Linked DNA regions of Homo sapiens: region 2 is linked to region 1. Evidence: promoter capture Hi-C in 16 types of primary human blood cells and fetal thymus (Javierre and others, 2016). All regions are on one chromosome and are shown on one strand. Each heading gives the region's core, a stretch centred on a gene start or on the middle of the fragment in contact. The rest is flanking DNA. Distances are from core to core; before and after follow the strand shown. Region 1 has its middle 9.3 kb from the start of PDK3. Region 2 holds the start of KLHL15 (kelch like family member 15).

Region 1 (6,981 bases), core at 3,969-6,468:
GTGTTGCTATTAAGGAATACCTGAGGCTGGGTGATTTATGAAGAAAACAGGTTTATTTGGCTCTGCAGGCTGTACAAGAAGCATGGTGCCAGCATCTGCTCCTGGTGAGAGCCTCAGGCTGCTTCCACTTATGTCAGAGGGGGAAGGGGAGCCAGGGTATGCAGAAATCACATGGCGAGAGAGGAAGCAATAGAGAGGGGAGGGAGATGCCAGAGTCTTTTTCACAACGAGCTCTGGCAGGAATTAATAAAGTGAGAACTCACCCACCCTCCCACACCCCCGAACCAGGGAGGACATTAATCTAATCATGAGGGATCCACCCTGATATGGTTTGGCTCTATGTCCCCACCCAAATCTTATCTTGTAGCTCCCATAATTCCCATGTGTTGTGGGAGGGACCTGGTGGGAGATAATTGAATCATGAGGGTGGGTCTTTCCTGTGCTGTTCTCGTGATGGTGAATAAGTCTCAAGAGATCTGATGGTTTTAAAAACGGGAGTTTCCCTGCACAGCTCTCTCTGCCTGCCACCAACCATGTAAGACGTGACTTGCTCCTCCTTGCCTTCTGCCATGATTGCGAGGCCACCCCAGCCATGTGGAACTGTAAGTCCATTAAACCCCTTTCTTTTGTAAATTTCCCAGTCTCAGGTATATCTTTATTAGCAGCATGAAAATGGACTAATACACACCCCTATAACCCAAACATGTCCCACCAGATCCCATCTCCAACACTGTGTATCAAATTTCAACATGAGATTTGGAGGGGACAAACATTCAAACTATAGCACTTGCCAACTGAATAACGCCCTGAACAAGAATCCAGTATTGAATTTATTGGCTCTACCACACTTCAGTGGCTGACCTTAGGCAGCTTACTTAACTTTTTAGGCCTCAGTTTTCTTCATCTGTAAATGATATGAGGATTAAAAGAGGTAACCGCACCTAACACAGCCCTGGCACAAAGAAGTCCAGAAGCTAATGCTAGTTACCTTCCCAAATAAATAGAAGTATAAAGGGCACTCTGCAATATACCTAGCACAGCACTGTCCAGTAGAAATCTAATATGAGCCACAAATGTGAGCCACTGAGGTAATTTTACATTTTCTAGAAGGCACACTTTTAAAAGGGTAAAAAGAAATCAATAAATAGATAAAATCAATTTTAACAATATGTTATATTTAATCAATATACCCAAAAGGTTATTGTATTAGTCCATTCTCACACTGCTGATAAAGACCCGAGACTGGGTAATTTATAAAGAAAAAGAAGTTTAATGGACTCACAGTTCCACATGGCTGGGGCAGCCTCACAATCATGGCAGAAGGTGAAAGGCACATCTTACATGGCAGCAGACAAAGAGAAAAATGAGTCAAGTGAAAGGGGAAATCCCTTATAATCAGATCTCATGAGACTTATTTATTACCACAAGAACAGTATGGGAGAAACCGCCTCCATGATTCAATTGTCTCCCATGGGGTCCCTCCCACAACATGTGGGAATTAAGGGAGCTACATTTTTTTTTTTTTTTTTTTTGAGACGGAGTCTCACTCTGTCACCCAGGCTGGAGTGCGATGCCGTGATCTCGGCTCACTGCAATCTCTGCCTCTTAGGTTCAAGCGATTCTCCTGCCTCAGCCTCCTGAGTAGCTGGGATTACAGGCACGCACCACTACACCTGGCTAATTTTTTTTTGTATTTTTAATAGAGACAGGGTTTCATGTTGGTCAGGCTTGTCTCGAATTCCTGACCTCGTAATTCACCCGCCTTGGCCTCCCAAAGTACTGGGATTATAGGCGTGAGCCACTGCGCCCGGCTGGGAGCTACAATTTAAGATAAGATTTGGATGGGGACACAGCCAAACCATATCAGTTATCATTTCAACATGTAATCATTATAAAAATTAGTAATGTAGCCAGACACAATGGCTCATGCCTGTAATCCCAGCTACTTGGGAGGCTGATGCTGGAGAATAGCTTGAGTCCAGGAATTTGAGGCAGGCCTGGGTAACATAGCAAGACCCTCATCTCTAAAAAATTATTGATGAGATAGTTTACATCCTTTTTCATACCAAGTCTGAAATCTGGTGTGAATTTTATACATATGACATGTCTCAATTTGGACCAGCCACATTTCAACGCCATGTAGCTAGTGGTACTCTGTTGGGCAGAGCAATTCTAGCTCTTCTCATGAGGATGAATCTCTACAGATTTGAAATCTGGCCTATTCTATTCTATGGCACACTTCAAATTGTGGGAAGCATTTGGCCCCAGTTCTGTTCCTTTAATATCACTAATACTATAGTCATTTTATGCATCAGATGATACAAGGTACAAATTATTCTTGAATAGGAATCCCTAAATTCCTTGTGAAGAATGGCTGTTTTTCTCTTTCTTTCTTTCTTTTTTTTTTTTGAGACGAAGTCTTGCTCTGTTGCCCAGGCTGGAGTGCTGTGGCATGATCTCGGCTCACTGCAACCTCCACCTCCTGGGTTCAAGCGATTCTCCTGGCTCAGCCTCCCGAGTACCTGGGATTACAGGCACGCAACACCGCCTGGCTAGTTTTTGTATTTTTAGTAGAAATGAGGTTTCACCATGTTGGCCAGGCTGGCCTAGCTTCAAGTGATCCTCTCGCCTCGACCTCCCAAAGTGCTGGGATTACAGGCATGAGCCACCGCGCCTGGCCTGTTTTTCTTTTTCTCAAAACTTTAATACCTCCAGAAAAATGAGATCAAGTGGAGGGGCCAAGGTGAAAACAGCTGGGGCTGACAATAAGACCCTGGTGGCCTAGGGAAGAGGTCCTCCTGGTAGCTACACAACCCTCCCTGATGGAAATCACAGCAATTTGGAGGCTGGTGGTGGTTGTGATGGTTGGGGGTGGGGGTAAGGGCTGTACTTTGGCAAACAGCTTGGATGAAAGAAGGCTTTACTAAATGCTGATGGAAGAAATGCCAAGTTTTCTAGATAATAGGTGGCACCTCAGATGTCAGAGTCCTCTGCAAATAATGGTTCATGCTCTGTTAATTATGGGACTAAGTAAATATTCATAGAAACAGATAAGATCATGTTTTGGATAAAAACAGAAGAGCAGTGGATTCTGACAAGTCTCTGTATAACTAACCTTCATCTTTTGGGTTGAAGGAGAACTGAATAAAGTCATTCATGTTACCTATCCTTGGTTCAGATTTTTAGAACACATTGCCACCCAGGGATTCTAAGGATTTTCTCAATGTCAAATCAAACCATGATATCACTCAAGGCATTCATTAGTGGTGGTTGTTTTGTTGGCATTTTGCTGTATTTCCTTCTGTACCTTTCGATAAAAAAGGTTTAGGTGATCTCTTCCTAGCTAAGCTCAGTTTATTTATGTATTTATTTATTTATTTAGAGACAGGGTCTCACTCTGTCACCCAGACTGGGGTGCAGTGGCGTGATCTTGTCTCACTGTAGCCTCGATCTCCTGAGCTCAATCCATCCTCCTACCTCAGCTTCCCAAGTAGCTGGGACTGTAGGTGTAAGTCGCCAGGCCTGGCTGATTTTTTTGTTTTTGTTTTTTGTAGGGATGGGGTTTTGTCACGTTGCCTAGGCTGGTCACGAACTCCTGGGCTCAAGTGATCCGCTCGCCTCCGCCTTCCAAAGTGCTGGGATTACAGGCATGAGCCACTGAGCCCTGCCTGAAGCTCAGATTTAATACATAATTTAGTATCTTCCTTTTTCCCTCTTATTATAATGTTTGTATTTTCCGTGTTCTCATATAGACTTCATACAAAGAACCTTTAAAGACAGTATAATGGTTCATTGTATGTGTGCCATGATTTATTTAACCATCCTCTGTTATTGTTTCCCTTCTGGGTATTATAGGATCTGATTTTGTTCATAACCCCTGGGCACAAGAAACATTATCTTTCTTTATTTTAAAAAATCAAATTAAATCTGGGTTTGCGTTCCCACGTGCAGAGCTGGCAAGATGCCCAACAGCAGCCATTACTGGGGGGCTTGTCCCCATGTGTATATACAGGATACCTGAAGTATGCTTGGCATGAAAGTTAGGATACTTTTTTAGTTTTTATTTTGAGATGGGGTCTTGCTCTGTCGCTTAGGCTGGAGTACAGTGGCGAGATCACAGCTCACTGCAGCCTCAACCTCTCCAGCTCAGATGATCCTCCCCACTCGGCCTCCTCAGTAGTAGGTGGGTGCCACCATGCCCAGCTAATTTTTGTATTTTTAGTAGAGATGGGGTTTTGCCATGTTGCCCAGGCTGGTCTCGAACTCCTGGGCTCAAGCAATCCACTTGCCTTGGCCTCCCAAAGTGTTGGGATTACAGGCGTGAGCCACTGCTCCCAGCCCTGTGACAGTTTTGACTCTAGTAATATCAATCTGCTTAAGGTGGCCTAAACCATAAAAATGTACTGGCCCATGTAACTGGAAGTTCAGAGAAGGTTTCAGGTTGGATTGATTTAGTGCCCTGACAACGTTATTGAGGACCCAGTTTCTTCCCATTTCTGCTCTGCTTTCTGCAAAGTCAGCTTCACTCTGGCCACAAAATGGTTGTCTACTGCACTCCAGGTACTACATGCTTCCTTGATTGCACCCAGAGATGGGAATGAGGTAGGAAGAGAGAAGAAGAAAAGTGAGAGGTTGAGAGAGATGCTTCTAGAAGCTTCCTGAGAATAGCAGCAAGTTTCTTTCACAGAAGCTCCCAGGAAATGTCTCCTCCTATATCATTGGCCTAAATTGGGTCAAGTATCTATCCTTGAACCAGGAGCCATGGCCAGCAATCAGAATTAAGCTCATTAGTTTGTAGATTGACCCATATATATCATGACTACAGCTGAGGTGGGCTATTTTCTTCCCAAGGCACAAATGAACTGCCTGGGGGAGTGAACAAAAGTGGGAGTAGTTACCAATAGAAGAAGGAATGGATTTTATAGAGGTAACCAAAATATCTCCTATATTTTCCAACTTCTGTTTTCAGTCGTAGAAACCAAAGCACCCCATTGCACATAAGCAGCTAATGATATCGTCAAGGCATAGCAGCCCAAAACCCGGAGCCAAAGACTCCACTGTCTTTTAGGCTGGGGAAGATAAGCGACTCCTTTCTTCTGCACCTCCAAGAGCAGCAAAATCAAAACATAGATTTAATTTCTCAATAAATTATCCTGTCACATCATCCCTGTACTTAAAATCTTTTCTGGCCAGGCGTGGTGGCTCATGCCTGTAATCCCAGCACTTTAGGAGGCCGAGGCGGATGGATCACCTGAGATCAGGAGTTCAAGACCAGCCTGGCCAACATGGTGAAACCCCATCTCTACTAAAAATACAAAAAAAAAAAGAAAAAGAAAAAAAGAAAAAAATTAGCCAGGCACAGTGGCATGCGCCTGTAATCCCAGCTATTTGGGAGGCTGAGGCAGGAGAATCGCTTGAACCTGGGAGGTGGAGGTTGCAGTGAACCGAGATCGCACCACTGCACTCCAGCCTGGGCGACAGAGCGAGACTCCATCTCAAACAAACAAACAAACAAACAAACAAAAAATTCTTTTCTGACCTCTTTTGGAGGAATATAAAGGCTGAAACCCCTTAATTAGAAACAAAAGGACCAGGATAAACAGGGCTTCAAGAGGATTTGTGCCATCTAAAAGAGTTTGCTGAAAAAAGCCTACCCCATAAGTACATACAGCTATTATACATCCATAAGAATTAAAAAATTCAAAAATCTAGAATCTAGACACGGGAGAAAAGAGCTACTCCTTCAAGTCATACACATATTTGATTAAAGATGTACATTTAGTAAAGCTTTATTAAGTAACCCTTGATCCACCAGTTCACTTATTTTCACCATCTCACTTCCCACTCTTAAAATCGAAAGGTGCCTGGCAAATCTTGGAATCAACCAAGACATCCTTCAGTAGGTGAATTAATAATAAACTGTGATAAAACCAACATGGTGAAATATTATTTAGCCCTAAAAAGAAATGAACTATCAAGCCATGAAAAGACACTGAGAAACTTTAAATGCATATGGTGACGTGAAAGAAGCCAGTCTGAAAAAGCCACATCCTGCAGGATTCCAACTATATGACATTCTGGAAAAGGCAAAATTAGAGACAGTGAAAAGATCAGTGGTTTCCAGGGGTCAGAAGAAAGGGAGGGTTGAATAGGCAGAACAGAGAGGAGTTTTAGGACAGCGAAACTATTCTGTTTGATACTATAGTGGTGGATACTTGTCATTATACATTTGTCCAAACCCACAAAATGTACAACAGTAAGAGTGAATCCTAATGTAAACTATGGACTTTGGATGATAATGATGTGTTAATATGGGTCCCTTGATTGTAATAAATGTACCAGTCTGGTAGGGGATGTTGATGGTGGAAGAGGATGTGTGTCTCAGGGGGATATGTGGGAATTCCCTGTGTTTTCCATTGAATTTTGCTGCGAACCTAAAAATTCTTTAAAAATAAAGTCTATTTTGTTTTAAAAAGGCAGGCTGGTATTATGAAAGAACATCGAATTGAGAGCCAGGAGACCTGGATTCAAACCCAGACTGCCATTTACAAGTTGTATAAACTTAAATTATTTTAACCTTTCTGTGTCTTAGCTCACTCACCTGTAAAATGAGGATAATATTCATCCATCATACTCACTGTGAAGAGACAACATAAGTGCTTTCACATAGCACACAATAGGTGCTCAAAAAAACATTAACTGAGAAGAGAGAAGGAGGAAGAAAATACAAGGAGAGCAGGATATTATACCCCTGTCAAATGGTGACAGAGGTATTTTGTAACAAGATCCACTAGTTAGGGAGATAGATCTTTTTTTCTCATCTATTCCACTCTACTTTGGATTTTGGCTGCATCATATTATGATTTAATAAAGTGTCCATTATTATTTAAATTACTCAGAAAACTACCTTTGCCTAGTTCTAGTGTTCTATAGCAGCTTTTAGAAGGAGTGCGATTTGGGATAGGTTTGGTTGTTATTTTT
Region 2 (6,986 bases), core at 2,069-4,568, 430 kb before region 1:
ATTGATAAGCTCTTCAAAACCAATTTTCAAATTAGTAGAAGTATTCAAGCATCCTGCTCCCTAGATATGAAAAACAGGCATTAAAATTAGGGCATATATGTCTGCAAAGCATTTTCTAAATTACCACTTAATCAGATTAACAAAGGCAAACAAATTCGGAAAACAGAAAAGACTAACAAATGTAAGGTGTTAAATATTTGGAGTAAGAAAAGGGGCCTAAAGCGGCCTAGAACGATGAAAAGCAAAGCCCCTACGGTAACGTTACATTTGAATTAAAGAATACCGTTATTTAAATAAGCAGTTAGCACTTCGTAGGAGGAAGGCCAAGCAACGTGACTATTACAGATCTATGGATTCACAGCACTGCTTTACTATTATTCCGTACTTATTTGCTTATATTTATAATATAGAAATAAAGAGGCAGCAACAGTTAGCCACTACATTAACCACTCTACCAAAGGTTACTTAAAAAACGGCCTTGCATTCTTACAACACTCTACAGTTAAGGATTATTTTCACATATATGACCTCATATAGTCCTCTCAACCCTGCGATGTTGGTAGTACCGACTATATTTCATAGATAAGAAACCAAGGCTCGGTACGCGATTTTTTCTCAGAGTCACCCAAGTCGAACCCAGACCTTCCGATTCCTAGTTTTATGCCTCGCATTTTGCATAGTTCTATTTCAGGCATAAATTGAATTGTTAAAGGGAAGGAACGGGTTAGGCAAAAAATAATCATGGTACCTGCAGCTGTGTGCTGCAAAAAATGGCTGAATTATGCTTCTTCCTTTTTCTTTCTCGCTCTCTCTGGAAAAAAAAATTACATTTCAAACAATTTAAGTAAACTCGAAGACAAACGAGGTCCCGGCGTCTACCAAATGTTTGACTCGGGTCCGTGCAGAGAGGGCCGGCGAATTCGTGCCTAGCTCGGGGCCGCGGGCGAAGCCCGGGCTCCGCAGGCCGGCGGCCAGGGGCGGCTACGTACCTCGGGGGGTCCTGTCCAGCCTCTAGTGGACGGCAGTCTGCATCAGGAAGAACCGGGCCAGCGGGCCGATGGGTGGGCGGTCGGGCGCCGGGACGGCACTCGGCAGGCTCCTCGGACGTCTACGAGCAGCCGCTCCCGGCACGAGCCGGGTCGCTCCGGCGGGGCACGAGAGTGCTCGCCTGCAGCCCCCTCTGGATAAGTCCTGGGAAAGAAGACAGCGCTGAGTCGAGAAACCAGACAGTCGGGCTCCGCACGAGGCGGCGCGGCGTCGGGGCCCGGACCGACCTTGCCAACGCCGGGGGCCTCGCAGCACCCGACGGGGCTCGGCGGGAGGGCCGACTGGGGCCGCGGGCGGGGAAAAGGGCTGGGGGGCAGCAGGCAGAGACAGAAGCACCAGCCGAGGAAGCGTCGAGGACGGCGTCTCTGGGCTTCTGCCCCGAAGCGCGCCGAGCCTCGGGATCACCCACGCCGGGGGTGGAGGAAGGCGGGAAAGGGGCGGGGAAGGGGCGGGGCGTGCGGGGCCACGAGCCGGGGGCCGCTCCGGGCCGCGCGCCCCCTGCGGGCCGCGGGAGCCGCCCGGGGCCCGCCCAGGGAGGCGGGGCTGGCCGGCAGGGGGCCCAGTGCGCTGTCGTCTTGACGCGGAAGGCCGCCACGCTGGGAGAGAGGGCGGAGGGTGGGAAGCCGTTGGGGGCGGGGAGCTGGCCCGGGAGGCCCCCCCCTCGGCCCCTGCTGGCGCCCCGAGGGGGCCAGCCCGTGGCCTGGCGGGTGTTTACCTTCCCCCTGGTCGAGCGCCAATGCCGCCATCTTTCAGCCCAAAACGCGTCACTTCCGGCGCCACGGGAGCGGGAGCGGGTGTGGGAACGGGGGGGAAGGGGGGGCGGGGAAGGCTGTCCCGCGCCCGCGGCGCCCCGCGTCCCGGCTGCCGGCCCGCCACGCCAGCGGTTTCCCACCGAGGAAAACAGGCGGCCGGGCGTCGCGGCCCTGGACTGGGCCCGACGCAGCTTCCCCCGCGGCGCCGCCGTCGGGGCTGAGGACACTCAGCTGTCCTCGTCCCCTTGCAGCGGTCTCTCTCCGCCTGCACGAGCGATGGGCCCTGAGCCACTGCGGTGCGCCCACCCTCGACAAGTTGAGGGCTAGGAAGCCAGGAAAGTGTCTTTTTGCATCTTGGCCACGGTGGGGGTGGGGGAATCGGGGACAACGTGGAGGGAGCTTTTCCATAGCTACCTGTTATAAAAGTGACTAGATCTGCGCCAAATGACATCATTTTTTGTAAGGCAACTTGCAGTGGACTATTGCGTCACTGTCCACTTGGCTTACTGCACAACAATTACACGTTTCAGAAATCGATTTCCCAAGGGTGGGAAAATTCATAAAAAATTGCATGTCTGCACCACCCGGAGATAATGCCGGATTTAAAAAAGCTGTCTCTACTTGCGTCAAAATAATCAAGAACGAACATTCAGAGGGCAGTGATTTTTGTTGTTCGTTTTTTATAGAATTCTAGCTAGTACTTTTTAAATATTACCTTTTCTTGACAAGAATATAAAACTAGACTATAGGACTGTTTTGTAAATTTATTATGGCATCTCTTTCTGGGAAAAGTGTAGATGACGGAAATACACAGTTGGAAGCCCGTGGATCTACAATTAACCTTAAATTAGGGCATCCATTGCCCATAGCAGATCCTAAACTGAGGTATTTCGGCTTCCCCCACCCCCACCCCCCGCCGCCATTTTCTCTCTAGACCAATATCCCGATGAACTTTCCGTGAGAGGTGTCGCTAAAAGCGATAATTATCTCTTTCTAGCAAACTTGAACATACCATCTTTCCCAAGAGGCCAAAATAGCACACGGTGTACTGTTTTGCTGAAGTAGACTACTTCGTGGGAGAGATAACACAATCACTTCAATCTTTTGGAAATACGCTTCCTTATTCCGATTTAAACTATAACAAGCTTTAAAAAAACTGTAAGACACTGAAATTCCCAAGTTGTTCACACTTTCTTTCCATCTTTTCCAATAGCTCCTTTAAGATATTTCTGTTCATTATTTAAAAATCCCTGCTTGCCATATTTGTATCTATTACTACATGACAAATTACCCCAGAATTTCACATTAAAACAAATTTTTAAAATTAAATCATAAAATAAACTTTAAAAATGCATACATTCCACTTCTGAATATTTAAATGTTCATGCATTATTCCCGAACATCTAAACGCTGAGTTTGGATTTTTGTACATTAACTAACATTTTAAGCTATACATTACTATGTGGCACTGACCTGTCTAAAGAGAGGCTTCTGTTCTTGATTCAAGCAAGAGTTGAAACGTTTCTGCGCTCTTTGTACCAGGTATAAATGTAGTGAGTGTATGTCATAAGCCATTGTGTGATCACCGTGCTTCCCGTCCCTCCTTATTTTGACATTGCAAGGTCTCGTGGAATTTCAAATGTGCTTTTTTGGATATTTATGTAGTTTTAAAACTGGGCTGTGTCTTTCAATCAATCTATACGTTTACTATATGAACCCCTCCCCAAGTTATCTTCAATCAATGATGCCTCTTTCACTCTTATTTCTTATTTTTATGTTATTATTATTATTTTTTTTTTGAGACAGTCTCACTCTCGGCCAGGCTGGAGGGCAGAGGCATGATCTCAGCTCACTGCAGCCTTGACCTCCCGGGCTCAAGCAATCCTTCCACCTCAGCCTCCCGAATAGCTAGGACCACAGACGTGCCCCACCATGCTCGGCTAACTTTTCTTTTCTTGTTTTTGTTTGTTTGTTTGTTTTGTTTTTGTTTGCTTGTTTTTTTCTGAGATGGAGTCTGTCGCTCAGGCTGGGGTGCAGTGGATCTCGGCTGACTGCAACCTCCGCCTCCCGGGTTCAAGCGATTATCCTGCCTCAGCCTCCCGAGTAGCTGGGATTACAGGCGCTCGCCACCGTGCCCAGCTAACTTTTGTATTTTTAGTAGAGACGGGGTTTCACTGTGTTGGCTAGGCTGGTCTCAAACCCCCGACCTCATGATCGCCCGCCTTGGCCTCCCAAAGTGCTGGGATTACAAGCGTGAGCCACTGCACTCCAGCTCAGGCAACAGAGCAAAAACACCGTCTCAAAAAAAAAAAAGAAAAGAAAATATATTTTAACTTTCCCCACCAATTTCTGGACTGTAATGGGAGTTGTTAAATACCTTGAGAGTATCCTTTCACACTGGTAGAGTCCCACAGAGGTAGATGGAAGCTGTCTTTTCTTAGCCCTCTAGCCTAAGTATTTGAGAATACACATTCCTCAATAGCTATTTATTTAGCAGCTAGCGAGGTCGGAAGCATGCTAGAAGCCTGGGCCTGGGAGTGCTGGTGGAGTTGGAATGAGGTTCTTCCCCAGGGGTTCTGAGGATTTAGGATACTGCATACCCTCCTCCTCCCTCCTGTTTTTGCTTTTTAAGAAATTGAGGCCAGGCGTGGTGGCTCACGCCTGTAATTCCAGCACTTTGGGAGGCCGAGGCGGAAGGATCATTAGAGGTCAGGAGTTGGAAACCAGCCTGACGAACATAGTGAAACCCCGTCTCTATTAAAAATACAAAAAATTAGCTGGCATGGTGGTGCGGGCCTGCGGTCCCAGCTACTCAGGAGGCTGAGGTAGGAGTATGGCTTGAGCCCAGGAGGCAGAGGTTGCAGTGAGTCGAGATTGCACCACTGCACTCCAGCCTGGACAACGGAACTAGACGCTGTCTCAAAAAAAAAAAAAAGAAAAGAAAAGTTGAGGCTTTTCAGAAATTCCCAGTCTGTGGTAGTTGTCTTGGTAATCACTTTTCTTTTTACTTTTTTTTTTTTTCTTTTTTTTGAGACAGAGTCTCCCTCTATCATCCAGGCTGGAGTGCAGTGGCGTGATTGGCTCACTGCAACCTCTGCCTCCCAGGTTCAAGTGATTCTCCTGCCTCAGCCTCCCAAGTAGCTGGGACTACAGGCACACACCACCACGCCCAGCTAAATTTTGTAACTTTAGTAGAGATGGGTTTTCCCATGTTGGCCAGGCTGGTCTCGAACTCCTGACCTCTAGTAATCCATCCACCTCAGCCTCCCAAAGTGTTGGGATTACAGGCGTGATCAACCGCACCCAGCCACCCCATGATCTTTCCACTGTACCATGTAATTATATTAACATAGTAAATGATCTTCACATAGTTGTATTTTTATTCCTACTTAATTCCACAAATTGTTGGTTTGCAATCTACTATACTATTTATTTATTCATTCCATAAGTATGTGTAAGTGCCTAGTACATGCCAAGTCTTGTTCTACCCACTGGGGATCCATCAGTGAATAAAACATATGAAAACTCTAGCCCTTGTACGGATTACATGTGTCAGGTAATAAAATAAATAAGCAAATTATGTGGCCTGTTAGAATGTGGTAAATGTGGCCGGGTGCGGTGGCTCACGCCTGTAATCCCAGCACTTTGAGAGGCTGAGGTGGGTGGATTACTTGAGGTCAGGAGTTCGAGACCAGCCTGGCCAACACGGGAAACCCCATCTCTACTAAAAATACGAAGAAATTAGCCAGGCGTGGTGGCACATGCCTGTAATCCCAGCTATTTGGGAGGTTGAAGCAGGAGAAGTGCTTGAACCCGGGAGACTGGGCGAAAGAGGGAGACTCTGCCTCAAAAAAAATATATATTATTTTCATAGAAGTTTTAATGACTTATGAAATTGTTTCTAATATAATCTTATGTGAAAATGCAGGACAAAAAAAAACTATAATTGCACTGATCACAGTAACACTGAACCCTCAGAGGTAGTTTTCTGTTGACTCCTTATTTTCCTGAGTATGGGTCACACTTTGCTGTTTCTTTGTACATCCTGTTTCTTTTAGATAATATGTTGTAGCAACTCTGGACTCTGTATTAACCCACTCCCAATCCAGGTGGTGGTAGAGTTTGCTATTTTTAGATTTGTTGTTTGTGTGGTGGTCAGCCTGGACTAATTCTGTGGCGTCTATTCCCCAAATCGGGATGTGATAAATGCTATGGAAAATAACAGAGCTGGGGAAGGGTGTTCCAGTTTTAACTGGGATGATCAAAGTAGGAGGTATCATTTGAGCCTTGCCTTCAATGAAATTAGGGACCAGAGTGTATAAAACCTGGTAGGCAATTGTAAGGTCTTTGGCCTGTGAGAAATTGGGAACCACTGGAAGCTTTGGTGAAGAGGACCAATATGATTTGACACTCAGGCTGCTATGTAAGTAACAGAATTTAGGTGGACTAGGGCAGAAGCAGGGAGATGGGTTAGGAGACTATTCCGATAATGGAATGGAATGGAATGGAATGGAATGGAGGCTACAGTGGAGATGGTGAGAAGTGCTTAGACTTTGCAAATATTCTGGAGGAAGAGCCAACAGGATTTCCTGGAGGTAGGGATAAAGGAAAAGAGAGGAGTCATGGATAACATCAAGGTTTTCTGTCCTGAGCAACTGGAAGGATGGAATTGTCATTTCCTGACATCGCAAAGACCTCAGGAGGATCAGTTTTGAAGGGAGTGGGGAGGAAGGAAAAGCTGCAAGGACTGGGCCCAGAGGTGTGCCTGGGCCAGGGAGCCATCCTGGAGAACAGAGGGAACTGGTTCCAGGAGATCAGACAAGAGTGTGGAATGCTACAAGCTAGAGAGAAAGTTACTGGAAGTTGCTAAACATTCACTATCAATAAAAGATGCAATGAATATTGCCATTTTAATGGAATATATTTACCTTGAAACATGGTGTAGACAATGCCCCCTTGTAGATGAAAACCTTAAAAAGAAAGTTATCATCTTTGTGCTCCTTATGAACCAATGAAAAATAACATTATGCTTCAGCTTCAGTTATGAGATTATCAAGGGGCTGAGTGTACAGCGAGGACTGGGCTTTGTGGCGCAGCAATGTGAGGGAGTCATCCGGGAGAAGATACAGGACTGTCAAGGAGACAGAGAAGGAGTAGCCAGTGAGATAAGAGTAAGACAAAGAGTGT

The links. Contacts are between HindIII fragments. The CHiCAGO score rates a contact against its expected background, and 5 or more counts as called.
Region 2: a contact is called between the fragment with the promoter of KLHL15 here and a fragment that was not itself captured in region 1, in 1 of 17 cell types (activated CD4 T cells). The highest score is 5.1, in activated CD4 T cells.

Annotation. Positions count from the first base shown.
Region 1 is chrX:24,452,526-24,459,506 of GRCh38, forward strand. No RefSeq gene overlaps it. Among named protein-coding and RNA genes, the nearest start is that of PDK3, 9.3 kb to the right of the region's middle. The HindIII fragment of the contact is 1,133 bases long and covers 4,653-5,785 here.
Region 2 is chrX:24,023,868-24,030,853 of GRCh38, forward strand. It overlaps KLHL15 (kelch like family member 15), which reads right to left and starts at 3,319. Exons shown (of 4, transcript NM_030624.3): 1 at 3,273-3,319; 2 at 990-1,191. RefSeq lists silencers at 1,071-1,150, 1,161-1,310, 1,321-1,390, 1,471-1,910, 1,921-2,020 and enhancers at 1,683-2,187, 2,188-2,691, 3,899-4,398. The HindIII fragment of the contact is 3,234 bases long and covers 2,943-6,176 here.